Regions from separate parts of the Homo sapiens genome. Here regions 1 and 2 are each linked to region 3. The links are contacts of gene promoters, found by promoter capture Hi-C in blood cells and fetal thymus (Javierre and others, 2016). All regions are on one chromosome and are shown on one strand. The core of a region is centred on a gene start or on the middle of the fragment in contact, and the rest is flanking DNA. Distances in the headings are between cores, read along the strand shown.

Region 1 (4,023 bases), core at 243-2,742, 340 kb after region 3:
CCGGCACATTTTTTGTCGACAGGGTTGCCCAGGATGTTCTCAAACTCCTGGCCTGAAGCAATCCTCCCACCTCAGCTTCCCAAATCCCAAATTCCAAAGCACTGGGATTACAGGTACACACCACTGCAGATGGCTTACCCTTATATTCTCTCTCTCTTTTTTTTTTTTTCTTGAGATGGAGTCTCACTCTGATGCCCAGGCTGGAGTGCAGTGGCATGATCTCAGCTCACTGCAACCTCTGCCTCCCAGGTTCCAGGGATTCTCCTGCCTCAGCCTCCCGAGTAGCTGGAATTACAGGTGTGCACCACCACGCTTGGCTAATTTTTGTATTTTTAATAGAGATGGAGTTTCACCATGTTAGCCAGGCTGGTCTCAAACTCCTGACTTCAAGTGATCCGCCCACCTCGGCCTCCCAAAGTGCTACCCTTATTCTTGACTGACTTGTTTGGGCTTGGATATTATTTTCCTGAAGAATTCAATCACACCACCTGATTCCATATCCTTCAATGTGGATTCTCTTCCTAAAGCTTTATCCCTAGTATTCTAAAATACTTCTGTAAAGTGCCTTCATGTAGGTTTTTATTTTCCCATTCATTATCCTGGGCACTCATTGGCTGCTTTGTATCTGAAAACTCACATCCTTCACCCATGGGAAATTATCTTATATCATTTGATAATCTCTCCCCCACGCTGACCTGAACACTGCCTGGATGCGTGTTGTGCCACGTAAGCTTATCTTCTAATTTTACCTTTTCTTTTCTTTAAAACAATTTCACTACAAAATATTTCAATCAACAAATCCTCTCCCCAAAAAGCAATAACAAATCTTGACAAATTGTCAAAAACAATCACTTCAGGACTCTGGAAATTGACTGAAGCATACAAGAAATTGAAAACATCTATTAAAAAGAAAACAATAACAACAACGACTGACCTTTGTACGAAAACAGTGAGCATCTGGGGCTTCCCCACTCCCCACTCCTTCAGCGGATAGTTCTACCAGGATGGGCAAAGCCATGGAAACCAGGAGCATCAAAGGTGGCTGACTTGATCGGAGCAGGCTATGGAAAACCACCAGGTGTTGTCAGAAACTGCCACCTCGTGGTAAGCAACGGGAAAGTTGCAGCCTGGCTTTTATGCATCTTCACCTACAAAAGGTGCCTATTCCTAGCTCTTGCCCATTTTTCTATTAGGTTGTTTCTTTCTTGCATTGATTTCCAGGCATTTTCATCCTGTTTATTTTTGTTTTTTAAAAAATAGCCTAGATCTTAACCCAGGAACTGGCAAACTTTTTCTGCAAAGGGCCAGATAGTAAATATTTTAGATTTTGGGGGCCTTACTGTCTGTCATGAGTCCACTCTGCTGCTGTAGTGAGGAAGCAGCCACAGGCAATCTGTAAACAAATGGCTGAGGCTGCATGCCAGGAATGTTTCATGGACACAAACTGAATTTCATACAATTTTCATGTGTCATGAAATATTCTTCATTTTTTTTCCCATTTAAAAATACGGCTGGGGGGTCTCACGCCTATAATCCCAGCAGTTTGGGAAGTGGAGACACGAGGATTGCTTGCCAGGAGTTCAAGACCAGCTTGGGCAACATAGTGGGACCCCATCTCTACAAACAATAGAAAATTAAAAAAAAATATATATATATATATATATGGCTGGGCACAGTGGCTGCCCTGCAATCCCAGCACTTTGGGAGGCTAAAGCAGGAGGATTGCTTGAGGCCAAATCAGCTGGGCATGGTGGTACACGCCTGTAGTCCCAGCTACTCACGAGGCTGAGGCAGGACTGCTTGAGCCCAGGAGTTCGAGGCTGCAGTAAGTTCAGATCACACCACTGCACTCCAGTCTGGGCAACAGAGCAAGACCCTGCTCTAAAAATATAAATAAATAAAAACCATTCTTAGAACCTCCACTCTGAGAAGATGAAATATACATACTTCATCTTAGTTTTGTTAAACACAACTAAGAGCCCAGGACATTACATGTAAAACAAACATAAGAAGACTCTGAAAGATGGAGAGAAGGGAACAGGCTGACCAGAGACCTTGGAACCCAGGGTACAACGTGGTGATGACTTCTCTGGGTTTTCCTTTTGCTTTATATATTCCAAACTTAGAATTGAAGAGGCCAGCAACCCAGAAACACCAGTAGGTCCAGAAAAAAAAAAAAAAAAAACCCAACAAAAGCCTGCTCTTTCTAGCCAAAGCACCAGAAGAGACAGGCTAGGAAGACAGAAAGCTTGTAGATAATAACTCCTTTACTCCAGCTAAATGCCACCAACAAGGAGATCCCACCTCCACGCATGCCAACAAAGACAGCATGCAGGGCCCAGACTTCTGCCCTCATGGGGCTGGGATGAGTCGCCCAATACCCCCACCCTGATGGTGTCACAAAGGGCCAAGCAGGCAGCCAGGAATTTCATCCCCTACCCAATAAAGAAACCGGTCTCTCCCTACCACCACCCTGCCTGGGTGTCAATAGAAACCACTTGGGAATCCTGGACTTCCATACCCACCTCACAGAGAGAAAGCCCCCCTCTCTCTCCCTACTGGGGGGGGTGTCAGAAGTGTAGTGGAGAGTCAAGACTTTCCTCAGCGGTAATGAAGCCATCCACGCCAAGATGTCAGTGGAGACCACAAACTAGAACTGGCAGTAACAAGGGGCTCGCTGCCGCCTTAGAGGCTGAGTAGGGAGCCTGACTTCCATCCTCACCTGGCAGCAGCGAGGCAGTACCGTGTTCCCCTGTGGGAGCAGCATCAGAGGAAGCCAGTTAAAACACAAGGTGTATACAAAATCTAGTCTAGCAACGTAACAAGAAAATGTCCAAGTTTCCAGTGAAACTCACTCATCATACCAAGAACCAGGAAAATTTCACATGGAATGAAAAAAATGAGAGGCGACAGCGTGCTGGCAGCCCTCGCAGCCCTCGCTCGCTCTCGGTGCCTCCTCAGCCTCGGCGCCCATTCTGGCCGCGCTTGAGGAGCCCTTCAGCCCGCCGCTGCACCGTGGGAGCCCTTCTCTGGGCTGGCCGAGGCCAGAGCTGGCTCCCTCGGCTTGCAGGCAGGTGTGGAGGGAGAAGCACAGGTGGGAACCAGGGCTGCGCGCGGTGCTTGCAGGACAGCTAGAGTTCTGGGTGGGCGTGGGCTTTGCGGGCCGCACTCAGAGCGGCCCCGGGCAGTGAGGGGCTTAGCACCCAGGCCAGCAGCTGCGGAGGGTGCACCAGGTCCCGCAGCAGTGCTGGCCCACTGGTGCTGCGCTTGATTTCTCACCAGGCCTTAGCTGCCTCCCCGCAGGGCAGGGCTTGGGACCTGCAGCCCGCCATGCCTGAGTCTCCCCACCACCCCGCCATGGGCTCCTGCGCTGCCTGAGCCTCCCCGATGAGCAACGCCCCCTGCTCCACAGCACCTGGTCCTATCAACCACCCAAGGGCTGAGGAGTGTGGGCGCACAGCACCCGCCTGGCAGGCAGCTCCACCTGTGGCCCCGGTGCGAGATCCACTGGGTGAAGCCAGCTGGGTTCCTGAGTCTAGTGGGTACTTGGAGAACCTTTATGACTAGCTAAGGGATTGTAAATACACCAATCAGCGCTCTGTGTCTAGCTCAGGGTTTGTGAATACACCAATCGACACTCTGTATCTAGCTAATCTAGTGGTGAGGTGGAGAACTTGTGTGTCTAGCTCAGGGATTGTAAACGCACCAATCAGCACCCTGTCAAAACAGACCAATCAGCTCTCTGTAAAATGGACCAATCAGCAGGATGTGGGTGGGGCCAGATAAGGGAATAAAAGCAGGCTGCCCGAGCCAGCAGTGGCAACCCACTCGGGTCCCCTTACGCACTGTGGAAGCTTTGTTCTTTCGCTCTTTGCAATAAATCTTGGTGCTGCTCACTCTTCGGGTCCACACTGCCTTTATGAGCTGTAACACTCACCCCGAAGGTCTGAAGCTTCACTCCTGAAGCCAGCGAGACCGCGAACCCACTGGGAGGAATGAACAACTCCAGATGTGCCGCCTTAA
Region 2 (4,405 bases), core at 626-3,125, 270 kb after region 3:
CTGTTCACACATCTAATCACTTTCCGTCAAGATTTAAATTCCAGGTTGTCATCAATGGCCGAGAGTTTCCCCCAGCTGAAGCTGGAAGCAAGAAAGTGGCCAAGCAGGATGCAGCTATGAAAGCCATGACAATTCTGCTAGAGGAAGCCAAAGCCAAGGACAGTGGAAAATCAGAAGAATCATCCCACTATTCCACAGAGAAAGAATCAGAGAAGGTAGGTGTCCTCCTGCCATCTGGGAGGATCAGTTCCCTGTCAGTGTCTGGATTGTAACTGACTCCCTTGAGGCAATCCCAGCCTAAACAACTGACACCATCTCGGAGTCAGCTTCCCACTCTTCCCTCTACCCTATCTCGCCAGCCCACCTTTCCTCCTCTCATACCCAGCTCCTCTGTCTGCTCCTGTCCCAACATAATTGGATTTACAGAATTTCGGACTTGAAAGAGACCTGAAAGTTTATTGAGGCCAATCTCCTCTCTTGGAAGATGCGGAATGAGAGCTCCAGCAGCCCCTTTAACTTTGGGAAGCCAACCCCTTGACAGGTGGTGGGAATAAAGTCCCCCATCCCCATCCCTTCTTCTGTGATGGACTAACCAGTGTTTTCTTAGTTTTGTTTTCTTCTTGTCTCTCATTTTCTCTAGACTGCAGAGTCCCAGACCCCCACCCCTTCAGCCACATCCTTCTTTTCTGGGAAGAGCCCCGTCACCACACTGCTTGAGTGTATGCACAAATTGGGGAACTCCTGCGAATTCCGTCTCCTGTCCAAAGAAGGCCCTGCCCATGAACCCAAGTATGTCCTACGTGTCCTCTGTCCAGCTGAGGTTTTCTCAGAAAGAAAAAGAGACACATTTTCTTCCTTGCCTCCTCAGGGATGGCAGATTGACCAATTTCTCCTGTTTCAAAATGGGGAAAGGAGGGCTCTGAGGTCCTGGTTGCTGCTTGTGAGGCAGACAATTAGGGATTAGGAATTCAAAGGGAATTCCTGGCCCACCCTCTATCTCCTCTATAAGCACTAGGGAGGTTCACGGCTTGGAGGTCACTCACTGTTGGTGGGACAGAAAGGTACAGGACCTGAGAAGCTCTCTGCCTGTGGGTCTATAGACTCACATGTTCAAGAGAAGTGTTCCTGGAAGAGGTGAAACTAGGTTGATGCTTAAATGTTGAAAGGGGTCAGCCAGGCTAAGAGACACTGGCTGTTCAAGGCAGAAGTGACTGCATGAGATGTGACTGCACAGAGGTGATGTGTTCAAGGAAATTACCAGTAGTGGAGGATGGCAGCCTGGCAGAGGCTAGGTCAGGCTCCTCAGTCAAAACCATTTTAATCCTTCTACGTGCTTCATCTCCTGTCAGGTTCCAATACTGTGTTGCAGTGGGAGCCCAAACTTTCCCCAGTGTGAGTGCTCCCAGCAAGAAAGTGGCAAAGCAGATGGCCGCAGAGGAAGCCATGAAGGCCCTGCATGGGGAGGCGACCAACTCCATGGCTTCTGATAACCAGGTAGGGCGTTTTCCTACTCAAAAGATACAGGTCATTTTTAGCAACTGAGTGGTTTAAGATTGCCAGTGACTCCCTCAACATTTCCTGAAGTGTTTATGGCTCCTCTGTTTGATGGATTCTCCTTTAGCCTGAAGGTATGATCTCAGAGTCACTTGATAACTTGGAATCCATGATGCCCAACAAGGTCAGGAAGATTGGCGAGCTCGTGAGATACCTGAACACCAACCCTGTGGGTGGCCTTTTGGAGTACGCCCGCTCCCATGGCTTTGCTGCTGAATTCAAGTTGGTCGACCAGTCCGGACCTCCTCACGAGCCCAAGTGAGTGTCCTAGTCCTGGCTAATGCATGTGTCACCAGTTGGGGATGGTCTGTAACCCAGGGAAAACAAGGGTGTGCTTTAGCTGTGTAGGACAGAAGGGGCGAGTTGAGGGAAACAAGTCCAGCCCTGTCTCCACGGCCTCTTAGAAGACAATAGACCTGCCAAGAGTGAATGCGTTCACTCTTCCAGTAAGCATGATCCTTTTTAATTTTTTGACTAGTTTTAATTTTTAAAGAAATGTATAGGTACATTAAAAAATCATTCAGGCCAGACATGGTGGCTCACGCCTGTAATCCCAGCACTTTGGGAAGTTGAGGCAGGTAGATTACCTGAGGTCGGGAGTTCAAGACCAGCCGGACCATATGAGGAAACCCTGTCTCTACTAAAAATACAAAAATTAGCTGGGCGTGGCAGCGGGTGCCTGTAATCCCAGCTACTCGGGAGGCAGACAGGAGAATTGATTGAAGCTGGGAGGCGGAGGTTGCAGTGAGCTGAGATCGCACCACTGCACTCCAGCCTGAGCAACAGAGCAAGACTCCATCTTGAAAAAAATCATTCAAGCTGATTGAAAAAGTAGTCATTTCAATGAAAAGTCTCATTTCCGTCTCAGACTTCTAGTTTCCCTCCCTAGACCCATATATTACTATAGCCCTGCATTAGCAACTGGGATGCGGTCTGAGAAGCATGGTTTTGTTGTTGTGAGAACATCAGTGTGTATTTACATAAACCTAGATGGCATGGGCTCCTACACACGTACAGGCTGTATGGTATGGCCGGTTGCTCCTAGGCTACAAACCTGTACAGCATGTAACTGTAGTGAATACTGTGGGCAGCTGCAACACACTGGTAAGTATTGGTGTCTATCTAAACAGCAAAAAGATACAGTAAAAAGACAGCATAAAGGATTAAAAAAATACTACACCTGTATAGGGCGCCTGCCATGAATGGAGCTTGCAGGACTAGAAGTTGCTGTGGGTGAGTCAGCCAGTGAGTGGAGAATGAATATGAGGGCCTAGGACATGACTGTACACTAATGTAGGCTTTGTAAACACTGTTCACTTAGGCTAACTACATTTATTTAAAATATTTTTCTTTAATAAATTAACCTTAGCTTACTGTAACTTTTTTACTTTATTTTTACTTTATTTTTTACTTTATTAACTTTTTTATTTTTTGTTCCTTTTGTAATAATACTTAGCTTAAAACACAAACATGTTGTACTGCTATCCAAAAATATTTCCTTTGTTTATATCCTTAATTCTATAGTCTTTTTTCTGTTTGTAAATTTTTTTATTTTTTTAACTTTTTAAACTTTTTTGTTGAAAGCTAAGATGAAAATACATTAGCTGTTAGCCTAGGCCTACACAGGGTCAGGATCCTCAGTATCACTGTCTTCCACCTCCACGTCTTGTCCCACTGTAAGGTGTTCAGGGGCAATAACATGCATGGGGGCCGTCATCTCCTATGGTAACAGTGCTTTCTGGAATACCTGCCTGAGGCTTTTTTTAGTTACTTATTTTTCTAGAAGTAGAAGGAGTATACGCTGAAATAATGATAAAAATATAGTAAACACATAAGGAGCGTGTAGCCTAGATCCCTCGCATTCACAGTTCACAGTCGAGTTCACACTCCTACAAGAATCTCATGCTGCTGCTGATCCCACAGGAGGCGGAGCTCGGACCAGAATGCTTTCTTGCTCGCCACTCACCTCTTCCTGTGTGCCCAGGTTCCTAACAGGTTACAGAGCCCTGCACTTGGTGATAAGAATTTTTCAGCTCCATCATAATCTTACGGGGCCCCTGTCATATGTGTGATTTATCATTGAACAAAACACTGTTATGCAGTACATGACTATACCAGTTTCTTGAGTCCTTCTAGAAATTGCTGTGCATAACTAGCACATTTTCCCTTTTGTCTTTTTAAACAAGTATATCTTCTGTTTTATACGTTGACTCCTTTACTTACCAGACTTCTTGCATAGCTGCATAGTATTTCATTGAATAGAAGCTGACAAATTCAGTTTCTCAGAAGTAAACATTTAATAGGGACTTAGGAACAGAAATGATGTCTTGGGTGGCTGCAAGATGGTGGATCCCTGCACTTACCCTCCAGAAAGTATGCTTTCTATAGAGGCTTTTTTGGTTAAACATGCAGCTGGTCACACATTATACTTTCTTGTGAAACTTATGAGCACTAGCTGGTGGGGAGGCTTGGTAGACATCTTTGTGTGGAATTATTTATGCTACCCAACACTTTGGGATGCGGGAGTCAGATATTGGTGGTCATAGTGGTTTTGCATCAAGATGGCATCACTCTTGCCATGCAACCGGCATGTTTTCTTAATCTCTAAGGTCTATCACAAAGTGGAAAAGCAAGGTGTAAAGTGAGGGGAGAGGTGAAGATTGTCTGTATATGTCTAGAATATTTTCTTGAAGGATCGAAAAAACTGGCAACTGTGTTTGCTTCTGGGGAAGGAGGGACACTTTTATTGTACACTCTTAACTGTTTGAATTTTCACATGTTTGGCATCCAACTTGTCCATTTTAAAGTCATTAAGGAAAAAAGCTTATAAAAATGCTATCTTGTTACTTTA
Region 3 (4,181 bases), core at 1,134-3,633:
TCATGATAATTTATTAGAGGATCATTAAACCTAAGTATGCGATCTGGAGCCTTGAACCAAGCAGGTGGCTCTGTCTGCGGATGGAGGAGAGGGAGGGAAATCAAGAATACAGAAGGGAAGGGCAGGGAAGGCAGAGGATGCTGAAGGGGTTGGGGGTGGGTTCTAGAGGGCTTGGTCATGGGAAAACACATGAGACCCCAGGCTTGCATCTGAGGCCTGGTACTGTGACTTCTAGTGTGTGTGTGTGTGTGTGTGTGTGTGTGTGTGTGTGTGTGTGTGTGTGTGTTGGCAGGGGTAGGGGAAATGATTATGTCATTGATATCAAGATTATTATTTTATATATATATATATTTAGAGACAGGGTAACACTCTGTCGCCCAGGTTGAAGTGCAGTGGCGCTATCACAGCTCACTGCAGCCTCAAACTCTTGGGCTCAAGCAGTCCTCCTCCCTCAGCCTCCTGGGTAGCTGGACTACAGGCACTCGCCACCATGTCCAGCTAATTTAAAAAATTTTGTAGAGTCTGGGTCTTGCTATGTTGTCCAGGCTGGTCTCGAACTCCTGACTTCAATCAACCCTCCTGCCTTGGGCTCCCAAAGTGCTGGGATTATAGGCATGAGCCACCATGCCTGGCCAGAATCAAGATTATTGTGCAAGAGTAATTGTCACGTATCTGGGGTCGTGGCTTGTATTACAAGTAATATTTAGCTCTCAATCATCAGGGTTAATGGGGGATTGGAGAGGTGAGAACTGATATACAGAGGGGACTCTGGGCTCATTTTGGGGGGGCTCTGTCCCTCCCTGATCTGGACACTTGCTGCTTACCAGTCAGGAATGCTGTTTTAGGAGCTTCCTATGTGTATATGTGTGCATGTGTGCATGCATGGGCTAGTGTGTGCACACAACCATGTACACATGTGCACATATGTCCACCTGCTTACATGTTTTCTGGATGTGTGTCTGTGTATGTGTGCATGGATCTCCTACCCTTTCCTCTTCCCATCGAGGGAGGGAGCTGGACAGAGGCCAAAGGGTGATGGGGAATCAAGAGCCAGAGAGGAAGAGGCCTGCCTTTTAAAACCCCAGGTGTTCTGGGGAATTCCCTCATGGTGACTTCCTTTCTGATTCCTAAGGCTGCTGTGGTTAGAAATGAAAATGAATTCAGCTCTGGTCCCATCCTTTGGAACCCCCTCTGCACACAGTGGGGGCTTAATAAATACTTGATGATGATGGTTCTGAACCTGGGAAGCCAGCAGCTGTTCCTAGTTCTGACTCTCAGAGCCCCATGGGGCAAATCAGGCAGGGAATGACCATGGGGGAATCTTCAGTCTTCCTGCCAGATCCCCCTGTGACTACACACCCAGCTGTTAGGGAAGGGGCTGGAGCCATGGTCCACTTCACACACCCTGCTTTGGAGAGGCCAGTTCTTCCTCAGCAGCTTCTCTTTTGTTTTCCCCAACTAACATTTGAACAATATTTATTGAACAACCACTTTGTACTGAATATCATAGTGGAAATGCATCCTGGGAGAAAGTATCTGATCTGTGGGGTCAGACTGACTAAGTTCAAATCCCAGCATCTTTAATTACAAGCGGGATGACATCTGACAAGTTACATATCTATGTTTGAGCGTTTGAGTGTTTTTTCCACTTTCCTTTCTCTCCTTCTTCTCCTTCTCCTTCTTCTTCTTCTTCTTCCAATTTTCATCTGTAAAAGGAGAGTGATGACATCATTTTTGTGGGGTTGATGTGAGGGTTGGAAATAACAGAGAGGACCCTGAACACGAGGCGTAGGCACTCAGTCAATGGTAGGTGAGTTTATCCACCGGGTGTTAGAAGGTGTGGATCCCCCCTGCTTCTGTGACCTTGACGTTGTTACTCAACACCTCTAAGCATCAGGCTTTGTAAATGAGACCATACTGCCCACCTCCTTGGGTGTTTGGAGACTGTATCCGGATAATATATGTGAAACAACCTATCGTAAACCCTGGTGGTTAATAAATGTTTGCCTTCCCCTCCGTCTGCCCCCTCATCAGGGTGCACACCTCCCCTCCTTCGGAGGCCCTCTGTCCCTCCTCCCCATCGCCCAGCGTGAGCGAACATCCCTTATCGCCGTGGGCTTAAGGGTTGTGGCCATACCTGTCAGAGGAAAGAGGACAGCGGCTCAGCTCCGGGGTGGGGGAGCAAAAACTACAGTTCCCAGTCCTCGCTGCGCCGCCACTGGGGCCGGAGCCCAGGACGCCAGGCCCCTCCTCTGGGGAGGAGCCTATGCGGGGGGCGGAGCTAGGAGGAGGTTGGAGAGTTAAGCCAAGCCAATGAGACCAGCTGCTAATAAGTGGGCTTGGCTTACAATGTAACAGTGGCAGGAGGAGGCGAGCGAAGCTATTGAGCCAGCGAGGAGTGAAGCTGAGCCTGGCCTCACACGCTCCTAGAGGACCACCTCCTGAGAGAGTTCTTTCACCCCCTCTTCTTTCTCCAAGCTCCCCTCCTGCTCTCCCTCCCTGCCCAATACAATGCATTCTTGAGTGGCAGCGTCTGGACTCCAGGCAGCCCCAGAGAACCGAAGCAAGCCAAAGAGAGGACTGGAGCCAAGATACTGGTGGGGGAGATTGGATGCCTGGCTTTCTTTGAGGACATCTTTGGAGCGAGGGTGGCTTTGGGGTGGGGGCTTGTGCTGCAGGGAATACAGCCAGGCCCCAAGATGGACACTTCTGGGCACTTCCATGACTCGGGGGTGGGGGACTTGGATGAAGACCCCAAGTGCCCCTGTCCATCCTCTGGGGATGAGCAGCAGCAGCAGCAGCAGCAGCAACAGCAGCAGCAGCCACCACCGCCAGCGCCACCAGCAGCCCCCCAGCAGCCCCTGGGACCCTCGCTGCAGCCTCAGCCTCCGCAGCTTCAGCAGCAGCAGCAGCAGCAGCAGCAGCAGCAGCAGCAGCAGCCACCGCATCCCCTGTCTCAGCTCGCCCAACTCCAGAGCCAGCCCGTCCACCCTGGCCTGCTGCACTCCTCTCCCACCGCTTTCAGGGCCCCCCCTTCGTCCAACTCCACCGCCATCCTCCACCCTTCCTCCAGGCAAGGCAGCCAGCTCAATCTCAATGACCACTTGCTTGGCCACTCTCCAAGTTCCACAGCTACAAGTGGGCCTGGCGGAGGCAGCCGGCACCGACAGGCCAGCCCCCTGGTGCACCGGCGGGACAGCAACCCCTTCACGGAGATCGCCATGAGCTCCTGCAAGTATAGCGGTGGGGTCATGAAGCCCCTCAGCCGCCTCAGCGCCTCCCGGAGGAACCTCATCGAGGCCGAGACTGAGGGCCAACCCCTCCAGCTTTTCAGCCCTAGCAACCCCCCGGAGATCGTCATCTCCTCCCGGGAGGACAACCATGCCCACCAGACCCTGCTCCATCACCCTAATGCCACCCACAACCACCAGCATGCCGGCACCACCGCCAGCAGCACCACCTTCCCCAAAGCCAACAAGCGGAAAAACCAAAACATTGGCTATAAGCTGGGACACAGGAGGGCCCTGTTTGAAAAGAGAAAGCGACTGAGTGACTATGCTCTGATTTTTGGGATGTTTGGAATTGTTGTTATGGTGATAGAGACCGAGCTCTCTTGGGGTTTGTACTCAAAGGTAGGGGCTGTGGTTTCTCTTTATACCTTGAACAAAAGGAATATGTAGGTAGCAAGAGAGGGATTGAGAGAGGGGGATTGTGAGAGAGAGAGATTGAGAGAGAGAGAGAGAGAGAGAGAGAGAGAGAGAGATTGAGAGATTGGGAGGGAGACTGGGAGAGAGAGGTGGTGGTGGTGGTGAGAGGCGCTTGCTCAGTTATATTCAACACTCTAACTTCCCGTGGTTTTCCTTCTTGATCCCGGGAGAATTCATTCCTAGCTTCCTCTGGGGGGTAGGGGACATCCCCACACACTGTGTCTAATTTGCAGACTCTCTGTTAGGGAGGATTCAATAATCCCTTCTGAGAAATCGCTTTTCCTCCTGGCTCACTCGTACTAAAGCATAACCCAGCAGCTTAACGCACCAATTAATTACACTCCGCCTTCATGTGTTTGCCAGTTCCTGCGACTTCCCCTTCTTTCCTCCCCTCCCTGCTCCACTCCATTTTCCTGAGGATAAAAAAGAAATAAATGTCTGGGTGGGGGGTGGGGATTCCGTACCATTGCCCAA

What was found. Contacts are between HindIII fragments. The CHiCAGO score rates a contact against its expected background, and 5 or more counts as called.
Region 1: a fragment that was not itself captured here is called in contact with the fragment with the promoter of KCNN3 in region 3 in 9 of 17 cell types (M1 macrophages, M0 macrophages, M2 macrophages and 6 more); the score reaches 9.2 in M1 macrophages.
Region 2: a fragment that was not itself captured here is called in contact with the fragment with the promoter of KCNN3 in region 3 in 8 of 17 cell types (activated CD4 T cells, M0 macrophages, naive CD4 T cells and 5 more); the score reaches 7.3 in activated CD4 T cells.

What each region holds. Positions count from the first base shown.
Region 1 is chr1:154,531,516-154,535,538 of GRCh38, reverse strand. The region is part of intron 6 of TDRD10 (tudor domain containing 10); the gene reads right to left. Among named protein-coding and RNA genes, the nearest start is that of UBE2Q1-AS1, 20 kb to the left of the region's middle. The HindIII fragment of the contact is 1,517 bases long and covers 734-2,250 here.
Region 2 is chr1:154,594,212-154,598,616 of GRCh38, reverse strand. It overlaps ADAR (adenosine deaminase RNA specific), which reads left to right. Exons shown (of 15, transcript NM_001111.5): 3 at 32-215; 4 at 641-789; 5 at 1,350-1,494; 6 at 1,622-1,812. Among named protein-coding and RNA genes, the nearest start is that of ADAR, 12 kb to the left of the region's middle. The HindIII fragment of the contact is 5,008 bases long and covers 1-4,379 here.
Region 3 is chr1:154,868,483-154,872,663 of GRCh38, reverse strand. It overlaps KCNN3 (potassium calcium-activated channel subfamily N member 3), which reads left to right and starts at 2,383. Exons shown (of 8, transcript NM_002249.6): 1 at 2,383-3,632. The coding sequence starts at 2,700. RefSeq lists enhancers at 2,514-2,603, 1,676-2,632, 4,040-4,181. The HindIII fragment of the contact is 14,105 bases long and covers 1-4,181 here.